Regions from separate parts of the Homo sapiens genome. Here region 1 is linked to region 2. Evidence: promoter capture Hi-C in 16 types of primary human blood cells and fetal thymus (Javierre and others, 2016). All regions are on one chromosome and are shown on one strand. The core of a region is centred on a gene start or on the middle of the fragment in contact, and the rest is flanking DNA. Distances in the headings are between cores, read along the strand shown.

Region 1 (3,908 bases), core at 554-3,053, 3.3 Mb after region 2:
AAGTGCCAGTATCTGTAACCAATATCTGTTCTAGGAGCTCTCATTTAAACAAGTGAAAATACATCAAAAGAACTGAAACAAATCAGCAGTCACCATTCAGGATTTATTTGTATTAATCTACTTAACTCAAAACACTTTTTTTCTTGATCTCTACTGTTTACTGCACCTATATCTTAAAAAACCATAAGCCATATACAACAAATACAATAGATAGGAATGTGTATAGCTGGCCAATATTAAAACATCAGGATTGCTTCACATCTGATACCTCTTATTGCAGCAAACCCTGCATCTTCAGTCACTTGCCAGTCATTTCTGATTGATTATTTTTAAAGTATGTATCTGATTTTTTAATCGTTTGTATATTTTTAACAATAGATTCTTAGAAATATAAACTTGTCTGTGTCTAAAAATATGGGTTCCTGGGTCTACAGAGTTAGAATATCCAAGCATGGATGAGAATTTGCATTAACAAACTAACCAAGTCATTCTGTTCTTATCTTTCACAGAGGTCACTGTAGAACAACTGTTGTTTTCATTTAGCCCCTCTGCCTAAAATGTTAGGAAAGCAAAACACTGGTGAACAGTGTTTGAGAAAAATGTAGACTAAATTTAAATACCTGTAAGCAGAGTATACCAACCTCTCATCTCAATTCCCACACCAACTTAGCAACTGCAGAGGTTACTTACATGCCTGGCTGCAGAGGCACTGGAATTTGCTACTGTTGACCTCAGTTATTAGGGGAAAATTATCATTACCTGTTGTAGAAAGATGCTAAGCATATAAGGCAGACAAGGTACTGTGCTGACTTATATTATTTAATTAAAGTAAGCTTTCTTTTCTTTATGTTCTGGAGATCTCCATAAGTTGGAAAGGCCACTGGTCAATGTTGTTTAAGAACAAGGATCATCTTTCAATTAAAATGTTTTCAATTATAGATAGACTGAGCTACATTGGCACAATGGTTTTAAGATAAAAGTAACACAGTTTTAAACACTAATCCATGAGATCTGAAAATAAATAAAATCACTCTTAAATGTTAGGCACTATTTTAGTATGTCAAACTTAAGTATGTTTATTGAGTTTTGAATATTCAATAAACTTTTTTTAATATCTACTATTTTTAGAGATTCAATAACCAAATAGTGTGGCAAAACAAATTCAAATGAAAAATGCATGCTATTTTTAATTTCTCTTGGGTTGTTGGGAGCGTATATAAATATATAATATATGTGTGTGTACATGTGTGTATAAATATATGTTTCACTTTTAAATGACTATTGATTTTCACCTAACAAATATTTCTCCAATTATATATTTTTTACGATGTCTTGATGCATATCTGTATATTCTATGCAATATGTATAAATAGGAGCCTTACAAAAATAACGATATTTTAAAGTATAAGTGTCCAAAAAGAATAGCCTGTGAGTACTAAGCAATGCTCTCTCAAAGGAGAGTTTTTTGTCTGTTTGTTTGTTTGTTTTTTGAAACGTAGCTTTGCTCTTGTTGCCCAGGCTGGAGTGCAGTGGTGCGATCTCAGCTCACTGCAACCTCCACCTCCCAGGTTCAAGAGATTCTCCTGCCTCAGCCTCCTGAGTAGCTGGGATTACAGGCATGAGCCACCATGCCTGGCTAATTTTTGTATTTTTAGTAGAGACGGGGTTTCACTATGTTGGTCAGGCTGGTCTCGAACTTCTGACCTAGCAAACCACCCACCTCAGCCTCCCAAAGTGCTGGGGTGACAGGCGTGAGCCACCGCACCCAGCCTCAAAGGAGAGTTTTACCTTTGAACATTCACTTATTTTGCAGGCTTAGTATTTTTTTTAAGTTAAAGTTAAAGTTAACCGAATGTTATTACATAAAGTCATATAAAAATAGAGCCAACAACTAACTAATAGTATTTGTCTTTTTTATTCTATTTTAAAATATGTAATTATTCTTAAATCAAAACTAAAATCCTGGCAACTAATATTGTTCTGTTATAAAAATAAGCCTTCATACTTGTTCCTGATTTCAAAATATGTAGAGTAAGAAATCCACCTCGGTTTTGTACCTATGTGAGAACTTGGTGTTTACATCTGTTTCTTTCATTTATTGACAACACGCATACTAGGAACAAACTGCTTCTCTTCTTTATGTGGATAGTTCATTCTAATCTGTGTAATAAATATGACCATTTTGTCTCATTTCATAATATTCTGAAACAATCTCCATTTTTCTAGTGTGAGTTATTTCTGGCTGTCCTTGTGTCAATAAGGCACATGATGGCTTGGTTTTAGAAAAACTAAACTTTCCAGTTTGGTAACTATAGAAAAGTTTAAAATGGAGTTATCTCAGGAGAAGGAATTACTTGTGTATTTTTGCAGCTTATGAACCTTAAGTGTGAATGAATTTGATATTCTGCCTTTAATATTATGGCACTTAGTCTTGAATTCTTAACATGGCTTTGGCAACACCCCAAGTCCCAGTGCAAAGGGTATTACACGTTTATCTGTTCCGATTTTAGGTTGAGCAACAAGACTGCTTTTGTTCAAAGAATAACTAACAGATGAGTAATAAAGTCACTTACCCAAAACCAGATTCCATTGTCAATAAGAGGAGATTTGGATTGTACAGTTTCATCTGACAACTATGTTGGAATTCAACTTTTTAGCAGAAGTCAGAAAGCAACTGTTCTTTCAACCAAACTGTTTTTTTCTCAAGAATACACCAGCAATCTCTGAAGCATTTTCATTTGACCACTTTTTTTAGAAGGGGCTCGTAAGCTTGTGTTATACTAAAGCTTAGCTCCTCAAGCAAACTGGTGTTTTCCCTTTTTGTTATCAGTAGAGGACTTTCATTGTTGCTTTTTTTCTTCAGTAGAGTTTTTGAAATCTGCAGGGGCTTTTCTGTTTTTCTTTTGTTTTGCTCTTTTTTGCTTTTTTTTAAAGAAAGTTTTTAAATGTTCATTTAGTAATGGAGTCAAAGTGGAACCAGGAAGGCAATTCTTAAAAAAAAAAAAATTGTCCAAAACTAAAATTCCTGACCTTAATGGAAAATAAAAAATTTTACCATTAAATCATGAGACAAATGCAGTTAGGATATATCAGCTATCAAAGTGCAGAAATCAAGTCTCCATGAGAAATAAACCTTTGCTGCTGGGTATGTAATAATAAATTTATTTATATTATATATTTATTTCTCATGAAAATGCCTACTGCTTAGATAGGGGTACATTGATACTAATTTCTGTGTAGCACTCTTGGTGGGTTCCTCCCAATTCGGCAGACTTAGCACTTCTCCTCAATATAGGAATAAATTTTAAGATAAAATAGATTAAAATATTTTCAATTTTTCTTCTCTCATGGAGACATCTACAATGCTGCCCATGTAGGGCAGCTGGTTAGGAATACATGTTTACTAGACTTATATTTGTACAATTCTCAACTTCAGTTGTTACAGTAAATTAACAATTGCCCCAGCCAAAAAACTATTTTCTCTGTTATGATTTTTCTGTACTTTTTAAACAGATTTCTCTGCCTAATTTTATACACATTTTCTGTTGCCTTCCCAGTCATTTTTTCTTTTTTTCCCAGAAACAATTCTTTCTAATAAATTTTGACTTTCACATAATTATGCTGATTTGGGGTGTCATGTTTCTACAAGGTACCTTTCTCGTGAACTCCAGCATCCACGACAGCCTGCTGTCTTCTCTCCATGGTATTCTGAACAAGTCACCAACCTTGGTCTCTGATAAACAAAACTGAGGCTTAAACTGCCTTTTATTTCACTTTTATTTCACTTTTATTTCACAAAAGGCTCTTTTTAGCCTAATTCCTTATAGTCCATATTCTAATATTATTTCTCAATTTTAAACCTTTTCCTATAATCCAGAGTCAAAGTATTATTTCCAGTTTCTAACTAT
Region 2 (4,247 bases), core at 1,706-4,205:
TTGAAGTGGGCCAAGACTGGTATACTGCACTCCAGCCTGGGTAACAGAGACTCCGCCTCAAAAACAAACAAAAAAACTAACTGTAATTTAAAAACTAAAGTTTACAGTTGGCTCCAATGTATCTCAAAGTCAAACTGGCAGGAGCAGACTTATAAAAAGCTAACACTCATATCTAACTTGGAAGACTTATATTCTTATGCTGCATTTTACCATTTGACTACTAAAAAAGACACTGAATTACAATAATCCATCTTGGCATGCTTTTCCAATACAACAGTATTTACACAATGCAAACATCAGAATGTCTAATAAAGTTAACAAGCCAAGGCAATTTTGTTACATAAATTAACCCATTTATTATAGGCCAGTGATGTCTCAAAGAGTAGAGGAGCGTCTACTGGTCTTTCAACTCCTTCAGTCTTCTGATGGCGGACTTTACCGTGACAGCGGAAGTGGTACTGGAAAGAAAGATTCAGTTTCCAACATAATTAAGCATGTTAACATAGAAAATGGCAAATAAGTAAATCTGCCTCGTTTTTGTGTTAAAGTCGCTTCCCAAATTTTCCTAGAAAGAATTATACTGAGATAGACTGCTCTACCAATACTTTGCTGCAGTCAATCCAAAGATCTAACCAACATTAGATTACTCCTCGGAAATTAGTGGCTTCTAAACTACATGATGGCATCCTTTAAGAGCCATGCCTTCAGGATCTTGCAGAATTAGACATACAATCTCATGCATCTGATTTCTCAACCAGAGTTGCTTTTTTTTTTATAAGTAACTCAGTTGTGGACAAGCAAGCTTTAACTCCCCCTACCCCATCCCATGAAAAAGAAATGGTTCTAAGAGGCTGACCTAAACTTATTAAAAGGGAATGGACAGATTACAAGAAATGAATAAATTACAAGATGATACAGTGAGAACAATGATTAAGGAAATAAGAGCGGACACTAAAGTGCCTTTGGGAAAGACAGCTATTGAAATGACTACAAAAGTTTTACCATAAAATTCAGGAACTATACCTGAAAATCACCATCCTGTATTGTAAGTATATAAATAATTCACTTTCCTATCAGAACCAAGAAAGCACTCTAGTTCCCATTTTCCATTCTGCCCTAATAAAAACCCCCACAAGGAATATATATATATTTCAACATTTTCCACTGCTTCGGTTTAAGTTTAAATTGACTGAAACTTTAAAATCCAATTCTTTAATTACACTAGCCATATATGTGCTTAGTGTATTGGACAACACAGGTCTAGATGCTAGTTTGTAGTATAGTGTTTGTAGTATCGCCCTGTCAGGTGATACTGAGTTGCAGATTCACAAACCTGCAGCAGTCTAATACTGTTCAGAAAGACGAAACTGTGGTGGTCCTGATGGCCTCAAGTTCCAAATACAGTTTTGAACTAACTGACCCCTTCACCTATTTTTATCAAAACTTGCAGTGCAAATCAACGTTCAGTAGATTCAGCCCCACTAATGGACCTGCACAGTATCATGACAATGTTCACAACAATGTGCCCAGTGACCATCAAATTCTAAAGTAGTCTGTGAATTAGATTTCCGACTTCTATTTTGGTAGTTTTGTGTTTACTCTTTCAATAACTGAAAATAAACCACCACGGAAGAATCCTGAAAATACAAAGGCATCCTTATTCTCTCAGTCCTGAGAAAGTGTTAAAACTAGCCCATCCAGCAGCAACCTGGAATTTGGGCCTATGTGGTCCACACACTTCCAAATACCACAAGGAACTAGACTCACTTGTACGTCCAGGCACCGCCAGCCACTGTCTTCATGCAGGAACCACAGTGCCAGATCCCCACAGCTCGTCTCTTCATCTTGGTCTATAAAAGAGAACCAATTTTCACTATGAACCAAGTAAGTATTTTCTCTTACAAGCATCCAGAAGTCTAAATTTGGATTCACCTTATTGTCAGGGATGTGAAAGCCTCCCTTTCTCCCTCAAAAACAAAACAGGGATTGCTGTAATGCAGTATTTTGCACATAAACGTTCAAACCTTTATCAAACAAAAATCCCTCGCAGAACAAGTAGAATGGTATTAGATGCACAGACATCTTGGGAGTTGGTGCAGAAACATCAGTAGACAAAACTGATGGAATCATTTCCCACAAAGCAGGTTTGGCTTAGGCTGGGGGCACTCTGTCAAATGATTATTTTACCCATTAACGTTTAAGCGGTTTTCTTTAAATGAAAAACGTCTCACAAAATCTGAAGTTACCATCAACACTTTTATCTTAAAACTCATAATCAACGGTATGAGTAATTCCAACTGCCCACCAGCACACGGCTTATAAAATACCTTGAAGTCAGGCCTCACTTGGGTAAGAAACCTGCCCTCCCTCTCCTCTCACCAGAGACTTTGCCTTACTTACTTTGCCACAGAAAGAGCAAGTGTACTTGGCGTGCTGGCTGATTTCAATTTTCTTCACCATTTTCCGGAGGGAGGCCCCATAGCGGGTCCCGTATTTACCGACGATCCCGACTTTCTTGGTACGTTTGGCCTGTTTAGAGTGAAGGGAGAAACCAGTGATAGACCTGGAACCCAGGCAGGCCCTGGAGCCTCCACACACCGTTCCTCCACCTCACTGACGTGTGACCGACATGTGAATTACATATGACCTAGTTTTCCCTAAATTCAACCCAACGAAACCAGTGCCCAGGGCTGGCCGCGCGCTCCGAAGGCCCGGCGTTAACCCGGCTGGAGCGCGCCAGGCCCAGCCAAGGCGCCCCCGCCCCTCCGCCTTGGGGAGCTTCCGACAATGGTGTCTCCTGCAAAGGCATGGAGACAGGAGAGAACACGGGGTAAGGCAGGAGAGGAGATGGGTGCGGGAGAAGAAAACAAGGACAGATGCAGGCAGATAGAGTTCTAGGCCGCACAGAGACCCACACTCACCATGTCGCCGCGACCTAGGTCCGAGCCCAGAAAGGAAGAGACGCGGTGCGCAGGCGCGGTATTAGGCGGACGAGCGGAAGTGGCTGGTAGAGGCCTAGCTAGGAACTGAGCTCTATGGTTTGGGCGTTTTCAGGCGGCCTCCTGAGAAATGTTTGCAATTGTAAGGCGTCTCTCTCATCCAGGTTTACCCAGATTCGCAAACTATGGCGACAAACAACCATAGCAGAAGCATGTCCGGATTATTTCACATATATCACAAAATCCTGCAAAGGTACGAGTTCCTCCATTCGATGCACAGCACTTGGCTTGGAGAAGTGCATAAATCTTACATTTGTGGGGCCGGGCGCGGTGGCTCACGCTTGTGATTCTAACACTTTGGGAGGCGGGGTGGGTCAGGAGTTCGAGACCAGCCTGGCCAGCAGGGTGAAACCCCGTCTCTATTCCAAATCTCATTTATTTCCCCCTCTGCATTATGCTCTCTAAAAGTGGCTGACTGTGCAGGATGCTAGCGACAGTGGTGACTAAAATCCAAGGTTCCATTCCCAGAACAAGTTGCAGGCCAGCTGCAAACGATCATATAGCCACATTAAGAAGTTAGACAGTTTCAAACTGGTCAGAGTTCTGAAGGAAAGGACGATGGTTCTGCTCGCGACTAATTCAGAAGAGCCTGGTGTTTCCTGAGGAAAGTCTGAGATTGGAAGGCTGGGGAAAAGTTAACAGTCACCTTGGAGTTTTGTGTTCCAGCTGCTGCATCTCAGTGCGGATGGCCTGCCTTCCACTTCATTTCAGAACTCACTTCCATGGCCCCACACTAGGCTGTTAAGACAGCTTCCTGGTCCAGGCCTGAACCCTTAAACTCCAACATCTTACCCTTTACCCACCGTCAATTCTCTGTCCCTCCAGGTCTCTCAAAGGGGTCAGCAGGGAAGAATTGGATTTCTGGTTGAGGCCGGGGGTGGGGAGGGTGTGTTCTGGAACTAGACACATGATCTTCTTTCTTCACGTAGAACACACACACTAGGAAGTTTGGTTGCCTTTTTTCAGGGGATGGCTAATCCAGAGAATAAGAAGCTCAGAAAACTACTGGAATAAGAGTGTAAGAGAGAATCCATGATTAGAGGGCCAAGAAAGACCATGGGAGCTGAAAGGCATTGTGTGGCCCTGATTCCAATCAGAAGTCCGGTAACAAGTAGCTTCCGTTCCCAAAGCTTAATATTAACTGTCTCAAATAATTTTGCACCTGTTCACTTTTCCTCACAATTGTATTAAAGTCAACTTGCATACCTGGGCTGAGGTGGGAAGATCATTTGAGCCTGGGAGGTTGAG

What was found. Contacts are between HindIII fragments. The CHiCAGO score rates a contact against its expected background, and 5 or more counts as called.
Region 1: a fragment that was not itself captured here is called in contact with the fragment with the promoter of RPL37A in region 2 in 1 of 17 cell types (total B cells); the score reaches 5.4 in total B cells.

What each region holds. Positions count from the first base shown.
Region 1 is chr2:213,237,749-213,241,656 of GRCh38, reverse strand. No RefSeq gene overlaps it. Among named protein-coding and RNA genes, the nearest start is that of SPAG16-DT, 45 kb to the left of the region's middle. The HindIII fragment of the contact is 1,936 bases long and covers 836-2,771 here.
Region 2 is chr2:216,497,552-216,501,798 of GRCh38, reverse strand. RPL37A (ribosomal protein L37a) reads right to left here and starts at 2,955. Exons shown (of 4, transcript NM_000998.5): 1 at 2,922-2,955; 2 at 2,401-2,529; 3 at 1,768-1,850; 4 at 1-458. The coding sequence starts at 2,924. The coding sequence ends at 395. RPL37A-DT (RPL37A divergent transcript) reads left to right here and starts at 3,047. Exons shown (of 4, transcript NR_183317.1): 1 at 3,047-3,192. RefSeq lists enhancers at 2,879-3,268, 3,449-3,538. The HindIII fragment of the contact is 3,327 bases long and covers 805-4,131 here.